2 separate regions of the Homo sapiens genome follow, and region 1 is linked to region 2. Evidence: promoter capture Hi-C in 16 types of primary human blood cells and fetal thymus (Javierre and others, 2016). All regions are on one chromosome and are shown on one strand. Each heading gives the region's core, a stretch centred on a gene start or on the middle of the fragment in contact. The rest is flanking DNA. Distances are from core to core; before and after follow the strand shown.

Evidence for each region. The method cuts DNA at HindIII sites, captures the fragments that hold promoters and counts their contacts. A CHiCAGO score of 5 or more calls a contact.
Region 1: a contact is called between the fragment with the promoter of STX1A here and the fragment with the promoter of VPS37D in region 2, in 17 of 17 cell types (erythroblasts, naive CD8 T cells, endothelial precursors and 14 more). The highest score is 15.1, in erythroblasts.

The regions. Positions count from the first base shown.
Region 1 is chr7:73,716,623-73,721,717 of GRCh38, reverse strand. It overlaps STX1A (syntaxin 1A), which reads left to right and starts at 2,049. Exons shown (of 10, transcript NM_004603.4): 1 at 2,049-2,116. The coding sequence starts at 2,087. RefSeq lists silencers at 1,934-2,133, 2,194-2,393, 2,404-2,463, 2,574-2,653. The HindIII fragment of the contact is 14,118 bases long and covers 1-5,095 here.
Region 2 is chr7:73,666,505-73,671,680 of GRCh38, reverse strand. VPS37D (VPS37D subunit of ESCRT-I) reads right to left here and starts at 3,850. Exons shown (of 4, transcript NM_001077621.2): 1 at 3,585-3,850; 2 at 2,091-2,262; 3 at 1,579-1,661; 4 at 1-667. The coding sequence starts at 3,722. The coding sequence ends at 305. RefSeq lists an enhancer at 2,693-3,688 and silencers at 3,670-3,969, 4,080-4,179, 4,190-4,239. The HindIII fragment of the contact is 11,431 bases long and covers 1-5,176 here.

The DNA.
Region 1 (5,095 bases), core at 800-3,299, 52 kb before region 2:
GGTGCCAGGCCCAGACACACTGGGCAGCAGGGGGCTGGATTGGCTCCAGAGCTCCAATGCTTTGGCAGTCCTGGGGAAGGGAAGGGATGTGCTTGGCTTCAGGTCAAGAGGGTGTGGGCCACAGAAGTGACAGCTGGGGGTGGTGGAGGGCACAGCGGGCTTATGGGGGTGTGTGCGAGACCACTGTTGCAACAAGATGCTGGCAGGGACCTTCAAAAGAACATCTGCTGTTGACTGGCCTCCCCACTCCCACTCCTCCACAGGTTTTCCCATGAGTCCTAGAGGAAGCCAGGCCCCAGGCTTCTAGATAGAAAATAGAACCTACATTGGCCAAGTGTAATCCCAGTGCTTTGGAAGCCCAAGCCAGGAGGATCGCTTGAGGCTAGGACTTTGAGACCAGCCTGGGCAACATGAGGAGACCCCGTCTTTACAAAAACGAAAAAAGAGAAAATAGAACCTCAGGCCTAGAGCCAGAGTTCAGGATTGGGGATGCAGGGAAAGGAGGAGAGGGGGGCCATAACTCAAATCTCTTTCCCAAAGATAGAGTAGTTCCTGGCTGGGTGCAGTGGCTCACACCTGTAATCCCAGCACTTTGGGAGGCTGAGGCAGGCAGATCACTTGAGGTCAGGAGTTCGAAACCAGCCTGGACAACATGGTGAAACCCCTTCTCTACTAAAAATACAAAAAAATTAGCCAGGCGTGGTTGTGGGTGCCTGTAATCTCAAGCTACTTGGGAGGCTGAGGCAGGAGAATTGCTTGAACTCGGGAGGTGGAGGTTGCAGTGAGCCAAGATCGTGCTACTGCACTCCAGACTGGGCAACAGAGTGAGACTCCGTCTCAAAAAAAAAAAAAAAAAATAGGCCGGGCACGGTGGCTCACGCCTATAAGCCCAGCACTTTGGGAGGCCGAGGCGGGAGAATCAAGAGGTCAAGAGTTTGAGACCAGCCTGCTCAACATGGTGAAACCCTGTCTCTACTAAAAAATACAAAAAATTAGCCGGGCGTGGTGGTGGGCACCTGTAATCCCAGCTACTTGGGAGGATGAGGCAGGAGACTCGCTTGAACCCAGGAGGCAGAGCTGAGATAGCGCCACTGCACTCCAGCCTGGGCGACAAGAGTGAAACTCCATCTCATAAATAAATAATCAAACAAACAAACAAACATAAAAAGATAGAGGAGTTCCTTCATCCTGCAGGAAAAAGGGGTGGGTCACGCAGCATCAGAGCTGTGAACTGAGAAATCCTAGGGAAAGAAGAGGCCAGTGCCTGAGTCCCTACTGGATGATGGGAGCAAGGGGGAAGGGTGGAGGCTCCCAGACTGGAACTCTCCAGGAGGTTTTTGGCTGGGGAACAGAAGGGAGAGCAGGAGGTCCCAAGGTAATGAAATGAAGGAGGGAGTTACAACCTTCAGCAAATTCTGGGGAAGTGAAGGGATCTGAGGATGAGGACCGGATTCTGGGACAGGGATGCTGAGCTGCTAAGTCGGGAAGAGGCTGGAAGCCAGGCACGGTGGCTCACGCCTGTAATCGCAGAGCTTTGGGAGGAGGGAGGATCGCTTGAGGACAGGAGTTCAAGACCAGCCTGAGTAACATAGCAAGACCCTGTCTCTACAAAATATTTGAAAATTATTCAGGAGTAGTGGCGAGCAACTCTAGTCCCAGCCACCCAGGAGACTGAGGCGGGAGGATTGCCTGAGCTCAGGAGCTCAAGGCTGCAGTGAGCTATGATTGCACCACAGCACTCCAGCCTGGGCGACAGAGCGAGACCCTGTCTCCAAAAATAATAAATAAAAAACGAGACAGGGCTGGGGCAGAGGAGGCAGCAGGGTCTCTGGGGACCCATCCCCGGGAGCGATCACGCGTGCGGAACGTCCAGGACGAGACCCCAGGGCTTCGATCCCCACGGGGCTGCTCGTGCGGGGTGGGGCGGGGTCTGGGCGGGGTCTGGGCGGGGCCCGGGCGGGGTGGGGCGGGGCCGGGGTCCCGGGGGCCGGGGCGGGGCCGGGCTGGCGCTGCGCAGCCGCGGGGCGGCCGTCGCGCATGCGGGGCTCACACGGCTGCAGCCGGCGCCGCTGCCACTCCCGGGAGCATGAAGGACCGAACCCAGGAGCTCCGCACGGTGAGTCCGGCCCCAGCGCGCGGCCGCCCGCCGCCCGCCGCCAGCGCCAACGCGCCGGACACTTCCCGCCCGGCTCCCGCGGCCAGGATGGTGGCCGCTCCTGCGCCCCCAGCCAGGGCTGAAGGGAGCGGGGCGAGCCAGGGACCTCGACCCCCCTCCGGGTTCCGCCCCTCGGACCCACTCGGGGTCAGGCTCGCGTGAGCTCGGCCGCGCTGACACGTGGACGGTCGGCTGGAGTCCGGGGTCCTGGATAAACTTTTCGGGGCCCTCTTGATTTGGGGGGTTCGGAGGGTATGATGGGGTTTTGGTGGCGGGACCTCTTCCCCCTCCCGCAGAGCAGGCCCTTTCTCTGGCCCCCTCACTGCCCCTCATCTCTGACCTCCCGTGCCCCCTCGGTGTAGACAGACGAGGGGACCGCGGTGGGAACCTCCTTGGTGTAGACAGACGAGGGGACCGCGGTGGGCCGGTGCCGGTCCCCTGCGCGGGGCCCCGCTGCGGGGCGCGCTGCGGAAACCTGATCGTCGGGTGGTGGCGGCCTCCTCGGGCCACCCTGGTCACCTGTGGCTCCCATCACCTGTGGCTCCCCCTCTGCTTGGTCGCAGTAGGGATCCACTGCCCGCCCCAGGTATGGGGGGGGGGGCGTCACACCCGCCCCCGGTCCACCTATCCACCTTCGGGCTTTCGGGCAGCACTGGCTGGCGTTTCCAGACCCTTCAGGGTTCCTTGCGACTTGGATCTATTTTTCTACCTGTATCTGGGAAACCCCTGGGGTGTGGCTCCTGGGGCGGGGTTTGGGGGGAGTAGGAGGATGCACAAACGTTCTGAGTCAGAGCCCACCTTCTCCCAGCCCAGAGACCCCTGCAGCCTGCGTGGGTCCCCTTCCCCTGGCCTCTGCCCTTAGGGATGAGGAGCCCAGGAGGATGGTGACCGGGAGTGGAGGACAGCGACGGAAATGAAGCCTCTCTGGGTGTGTCGGGGAGGGGGGGTGGATCAAGGCTCAAGACTAGATTGAGTCTCATCTGGTCATCTGGTCCCCTGGCTGGCCACCTGGCTGGCAGCCCTGCCTGCTGATCCCTGGGAGCACCCCCCACCCCGCTCCCTGGGCTAGGAACTAGAACCCTAAGGTCCCCTCCTATGGAAAATGTCAAGTGTCCTTTGGGCATTTGACCCCACGGCTTGTCTTCTCCACCCAGAGGCTCCCTGAGTTGGAGCCTGTCTGCCCCATTATGTCATGGTTGCCTCCTGGGCATCCTGGAGCCGGGACCTGGGCTCCCCTGCCTTCATGTCCCCCACTTGCTCTGGCACCACGGCCTCCACTTTGCCTCCAGACCTGTTATTCCTGGCCGAGCGCCCAGCCCCTGGTGTAAACCCCATGAGGTTTCAAAGGAAGAAGATGGTCCCTCAAGTCGCATATGGGCTCTAAACACTTCCCCCGCGGCCCCTGTGGTTGCCCTCAAGTTTCCTGAGCTCCGTTGAGTCAGAATGAGTGTTTTCCTGGTGACGGATGGCTGTGTGGTGTAATGTGCTGATGTTTAGGCGCCTGGTAGGTTACCTGAGGGTGTGTGTGGGAACCAAGTGGTCAGGGGAACCATGGGCCCCTACATAGGATAATAGCCTCTGGCATGTCAGCCTTCATCCCCCTAGCTGAAGGGGAAACTGAGGCACAAAAGAAACACGGCTTGCCTGCTAGAGGGAGGGGTGGTAGAAAAGGGCTTTGCCTCATCCCTGAAGATAGTCAGACTCAGGCCTGGCTGACACTGGGGGACAGCCAGTGGAGCTGGGGTTGTGAAGCGTTTGAACCCAGATCTTTTTGCTCTGATGTCTGTCTCTGTTACTACCTCCTCGCCCCCTGATTAGATGGTGAAGCCAGGCTTTGCTTTGAATGGTCTGAGGCTTCCGCTCCAGACACCCCCACCCTCCCCACACAAGGCATTCAGAGCCCAGGGAGGCTGTACCCATTGCTGGGTGGCCCTGCCCAGGGAGGGCTTTCTAGCAGACAGGTGGACGGCTGGCAGGCAGGAGCCCACCCGGGGTGGGGTGAGACAGTCAGTCTTGGTGGGGCCACTGTTCCCACAGGCTGCTTTCCCTCTGGACCTAGGGTTCCCATCTGTGAAGTGGGGATGGGAAAGCCTAGAATTCAGTTTCTCGGGACGAGAAGCAGGGCTACAGGTCTCCTGACTCCAGCTCCACATTTGTAGGAGGCCTGAAGCCCCAGGAGTCAGAATTTTCAGCCCAGAATCCCCAGAAAGGAAGAGGCCAGCACTGGCTGAGCTGGACTGGGCTGGACTGGGCTGGACTGGGGCGGGCTGGGCTGGGCTGGGCTGAACAGAGATGGTGCTGGGGACAGCGGCTGTGCACCGCTCCCAGCCCTCCCTCCCTCCCTCTTCCTCCTCCTCCTCCCTCTTCTTTCTCCTTCTCCCCCACCCAACACCACCACATTTGGAAGGAGGCGAAGAGAGCTTATTTATAAAAGTCACACTTGGGGAAGGAGCTGGCGCGTTTCCTCACTCTGCAGGCCCGGCCCAGCCCTCCAGCCTTCTCCAGCCTTCTCCAGCTCCCAACTCTCCCTCTGCAGATGGGGAGTGAAGGGGGTCACTGGGGACTAGCCAGGGGGCCTCAATGCTGTCGCAGTCCCTCAGAGATCAGAAAGGCCACTTGCAGGTTACAGGTAACAAAGAGAGACCGAAGACAGGGCCAGGGTCACACAGCCAGGGAAAGACTTTTAGGTTAGAGCATCCCCAGGAGCCCCACTCAGGCTGTAGCTGCCTCCTCCCCTCAACTCAGAGACTCCCTGATTTTCTTCCTGGGGACTTTGCAGAGCTGACCTTTCTCCCTGGGCCCAGAACATGTATTTGTCTATGTGCCAGGTCATGTGGGACAGACACATGGGACCTGTTGCAGGAGGCTGAAGACGTAGCAAGGAGGGAGAGTTGGAGCAGCACAATCCTGGAAGGCTTCCTGGAAGAAGAGACCCTGGGA
Region 2 (5,176 bases), core at 2,601-5,100:
CCCCTGTAGTTGAGTCAAGTTCTTTAACGGGGCTGGTCCATCACCCTAGAGGCCCCGGGGCACGGAAACAAAAAAGGCAGGGTGTCTTCAGCGCCAGAGGCATAAAGCCCTGCCCACCCACCCCCAGCCCCCTCTCGGGCCTCTTCCAGGGGACCCTCCTCCCCAGCTCAGCCTCCAGGGCCAGGGCCTGCCTGAGGCCAGGGGGAGGGGCCTGCCCCTCCCCCCACCCAGGCAGTGGGGGAGGAGGAGGAGCCACGCATCAAGTTTGTCTAGGCCCCCCAACTGGGGGGCCGCACCGTGGATCCTACCGGTGGGGGGGCTCTGGCTGCGAGGGCCGAGGGCTCAGCAGGGGGGCCGGGCCGAGGGGGCACCCGGGGGAGCCCTTCAGTGGGGGCACTGGGCGGGAGTCCAAGGGGGGCAGGCTCCGGGGCACTGCTGGTGGCCCCCGGGCGGCCCCAGTGGGCAGGACAGCTGCAGCCGGGAAGGATTTGGGGGGATCAGCAGCCGAGGTGGGGGCCGGCTGGGCAGAACGCTCCCGACGCCGCAGCAGCTCCTGCAGCTTCTCTGCCTGCGTCCGCCTCAGGTGGGCCAGGGCGCGGCCACGCTGGAAGGCAGGCAGGAAGGCCTCCAGGCTTTGCTCCCCGAGCAGCAGCTGCTCCATCTGCTCCTGGGCCGGGAGGGAAGGGAAGGCTTGGGAGAGGCACGACCACAGACTGGGGACTGGTCCTCACTCCTTCCCACCCTGAGGCCCTCCCCATGGTGATCACCCCTCAGCTGGGGGACAGGGGACCTGCGTTCCAGCCTGGGCCTGCCTCCGATTACTTGCTAAGTGAACTGTGGACAAATGTCCTCCCACTTTTTTTTTTTTTTCCTGAGACAGAGTCTCACTGTGGTCCAGGCTGGAGTGCAGTGGCGCAATCTCGGCTCACTGCAACCTCCACCTCCCGGGTTCAAGCAATTCTCCTGCCTCAGCCTCCCAAGTAGCTGAGATGACAGACATGCACCACCACGCCCGGCTAATTTTTTTTTGTATTTTGTAGAGACGGGGTTTCACCATGTTGGTCAGGCTGGTCTCGAACTCCTGACCTCAGGCGATCCGCCCGCCTCGGTCTCCCAAAGTGCTGGGATTACAGGCGTGAGCCACTGTGCCCAGCCCTAACTTCTAAAATAAGGATGCCATCACCAGACCTGCTGGATCAGAGATGAGGCAGGAGCAGAGGCAGGGACATATGTGAAGTATAGACTTAACATGTCCTTCGGGAGCCCACCACCTTCAGCTCACTGATCGCTGCACTCCCAACCCAGCACAAAGTCTGCCCCAGCTCCTCTGTAGCCCCAGATCCACGCTGCCCTAGCCCAGTCACAGGGGAGCCCGAAAAAAATTCACAGGTAGGAAAGTGAGCCCTGCTGGCTGTCCAGTGCTGGTGGACAGCAATGCTAGGCTCTGGCATGCGCCAGGCATTCAGGGTGGACTTCCCAGAGGAGGGGCTCCCCAGCCTGAGGTGTAAGAATGAGCCAGGGGGTGGCAGAGAATGGGTCTCCCTCCTGGCCCCCAGCCCCAGCCACCCCTCCCCTCACCTCTGCCTCCTGCTCCGCCTCTTCTAGCTCAGCCTGCAGCCAGCCCAGCGCGCAGTGGGGACTCCAGCGATGCATGCTTTCCTCTGAGGGCCACAGAGGGACAGAGTGACAGACAGGCCAGGGCCCCGGGCTTGCACTCTCCCGCTGACCCCATGTGATTCTATATTTCCCTTTCCCCTGGTCTAGAGCCTCAGTTTCCTCATCTGTACCGTGCCCATGTGACCGCTTTGTGGATCCGGCCCCTACCAAGTTTCTGCTCCTCGTCCTAGTACAAAAGAGACAGGGGAGGCTTTGTCCCCCTCAGCATCTCAGGGGGACCCTGCGTATTGGGTCCCCTTTCTCCCACCCAACCCTCCCCACTTCCTCTCACTTCCTCAACTCTACTGCCCAGCAAGCCAGGAGCAGGTCCGCCCAACTCCCATCCATCAGAGCCTGGCACTTCCCAAGGCCAACCCACCGGATGGCCAACTGCCCCCACCAGCCCCAGGGGGTTCTCCCAGACGTGCCCTCACCCAGTCGCTGCAGCTTGTCCGCGCAGTTCTCGGCCACCTCACGAAGCTCCTGGTATTTGATGGCCAGGGCAGCCCGGCCCATCTCCAGGCGGGGCCGCAGGGCCAGGTTCTCCTTGGCCAGCGCGTAGTTGGAGGCCAGGCAGGCCTCACGCTCCAGCTGCAGGCCCTGGAACTGCGGGCAGAGAGGAGCTAAGAGGCCCGCTCAGGGGATCTGCCCTGTCCACCCTACTGCCCCGTCCACCCTACTGGGCGACCGTGCCTGAGGGCCAGGCCAAAGGCACCTGTCAGGCACCCCTTCAGGGTGGTGAACCCAACAGGTGAAGGGACGATGACAGGCCGGGACCAGAACTGGCTCTGCCCTGAGCTCCCTCTCTGGCCTCAGTTTCCTCTTTTACAAATCGAGTTAAAAAACATCCACCTTATGGGGTTGTTGAGAGACTTAAGTGAGGAAAACTATAAAGGCCTCTACAAATGTTAGTTAATTTTTAATTTTTCAATTAATATGTCTGCTCAGGTCCCGGAGGAGTGCCCCTCCCTCCTCTGCCCCATTTTCCATGCATGGACAGCTTCCCTCTCACTCCAGGCCTTTGTCTGTTTCCTCCTCAGGTGTTTGCACCGAAAACACTCCCACCCCCTGCTCATCCTCTCCAGAGGGGTGTCTGCACCCCGTCCCCTCACAGCACCCCCTCGGGTCACCCTCTCTTCCCTTCCCACCCCTTCCTCTGCCTCCAGTGGAATCCTCACACCCCAAGGAATACACACCCCCTTTTCCTCCCTGCTCCGGGCTTACAGCAGCCCCGGCCCTGGAGAAGGCTTTTTCCTTGTCTCTAGCAGGGCCCAACCTCCCCTCCCTGCCCCTGGAGAACGCACTCCCCTCCATCTGTCCCTTGTGGGATGCACAAGCCCCTCCTCGCCTGCCTGCTTTCAACACACACTTGCCCTTTCTGCCCCCCACAGACAACCAGCCCGGGCCTATCTCCCGTGAAATATACAACTTTCTCTTACGGTGGCCTATGCAATACACACGGCAGCTTCCAGCACCCCTCCCCAACGCCAGGCACAAAGCCCCCTCTTGCGCCCCCAGAATGCGTGAACCCCCAACGGCCCCTCCAGGTGTCAGACAGGCCCCTAGTTCTCCCAGTGGAAGGCGCCTCCTCTTTCTGGCCCTTACAGAACGTGGGTGTGCGAGCCAGGGCCCCCCACAACACAGCCCCCCGGAACACACCTCCCCGGAGCATCCGCTGTAGGACACGCCTCGCGGCCATCCTGGGGGTGCACAGGCGCCCCCCTCGGGTCCCCGGCGCCCCACCCGCCCCAGGCCAGCTCCAAGCGCCCCCTCCCCCGGGGGTGGCTCCGCGGGGCCCACTCGTACGTGCCAGGCTCCGCGCCCACGGGCGGCCCCGCGGCCCGGCCCGCGCGGCCCTTCCCTCGAGCGGCAGGTCCCGCAGGCCGCTGCCCGTCCCCCGCGCCCCCCGCTCGAGCCCCCCGCGCTACCTTCCTGCTGAGCCGCACGATCCGGTCCAGCTTGGGCTCATCCTGAAGCAGGTCCCGGAGCTGCCCGGTGCTGAGGATCCCAAAGCGCCCCGGGCTGCCGGGCTCCGGCCCCGCCCGCGCCGCCCGGGCCCGGTACATGCCGCCCGCCCGCGCCCCCAGCTCGGCTGCTGGCTCGGCCCGCTCGGCCCGCTCCGCCCCGGCTCCGCTCCGCTCCGCTCCGCTCCGGCTCCAGGATCCGCTCCGGCTCCGGCCGCACGCACCGCTCCGCCGCCAGGGGGCGCCCCTCCCGCTCTTAAAGGAGCCGCGGCGCCGGGGCTGGGGGTGGGGCAGGGAGGAGGCGGGCCGCACCCCTCCCCGCCCCGGCCGCGCCGCGCCGCCTCCAGCACCCCAGGATCGCCCAGCAACCCGATCTCCCCGCCCCTCCCGGAATCTGAGCCGCCCTGCTCTGCGCCCCAGCACCGGCCCTGGCTCACCACGCCCCCAGGCACGGACTCTCCCACCCCGGGCGGTTACAATTTGCAGAGCCCGTGCACGTTTTCCCCTCGGATGGCAACAACAAATTTCTGACTTTGGCCGGGCGCCGAGGGCTCCTGCCTTGCAGCCCTCCCCAAGCCTCAGTTTTCTCTTCTGTAAAATGGGGTTGGAGATGGTGAGCGCTGACTTGCTGGCCGGGCGCGGTGGCTCTCTCCTGTAATTCCAGCGATTTGGGAGACCGAGAAGGGAGGATCGCTTGAGGCCAGGAGTTTGAGACCAGCCTGGGCAACATAACAAGACCCCCGTCTCTATTTAAAAAAATTTAAAAATTGTCAAAAGGGTGAAAAGAGGCCGGGCGCGGTGGCTCACGCCTGTAATCCCAGCACTTTGGGAGGCCGAGGCGGGCGGATCACGAGGTCAGGAGATCGAGACCATCCTGGCTAACATGGTGAAACCCCGTCTCTACTAAAAATACAAAAAAAATTAGCCGGGCGTGGTGGCGGGCGCCTGTAGTCCCAGCTACTCGCGAGGCTGAGGCAGGAGAATGGCGTGAACCCGGGAGGCGGAGCTTGCAGTGAGCGGAGATCGCGCCACTGCACTCCAGGCTGGGTGACAGAGCGAGACTCCGTCTCAAAAAAAAAAAAAAAAAGAGTGAAAAGAACAATTTTTAAAAGTATTTAAATGCTTTTAAAAAGTATCCGGACATGGTGGCATGCGTCTGTAGTCCTAGCTACTCAGGAGGCAGAGGTGGGAGATTGCTTGAGCTCAGTTTTGAGACCAGCCTGGGCAACACAGCAAGACCCCATCTCTATAAAAGTAAAATTAAAATGCTGAGGGATAGTGATATGGCTAGCAATGTTATAATGAATACACATAGTAGGTCAATACCCACTTGTTATTTTAGACATGCAGAAGCATCACAGAGGCCGGGCACGGTAGCCCATGCCTGTAATCCCAGCACTTTGGGAGTCCAAGGTGGGTGAATCATTTGAGGTCAGAAGTTTGAGACCAACCTGACCAACAAAAATTAGCCGGGCGTGGTGGTGGGCGCCTGTAATTCCAGCTACTCAGGTGGCTGAGGCAGGAGAATCGCTTGAACCTGGGAGGCGGAGGTTGTA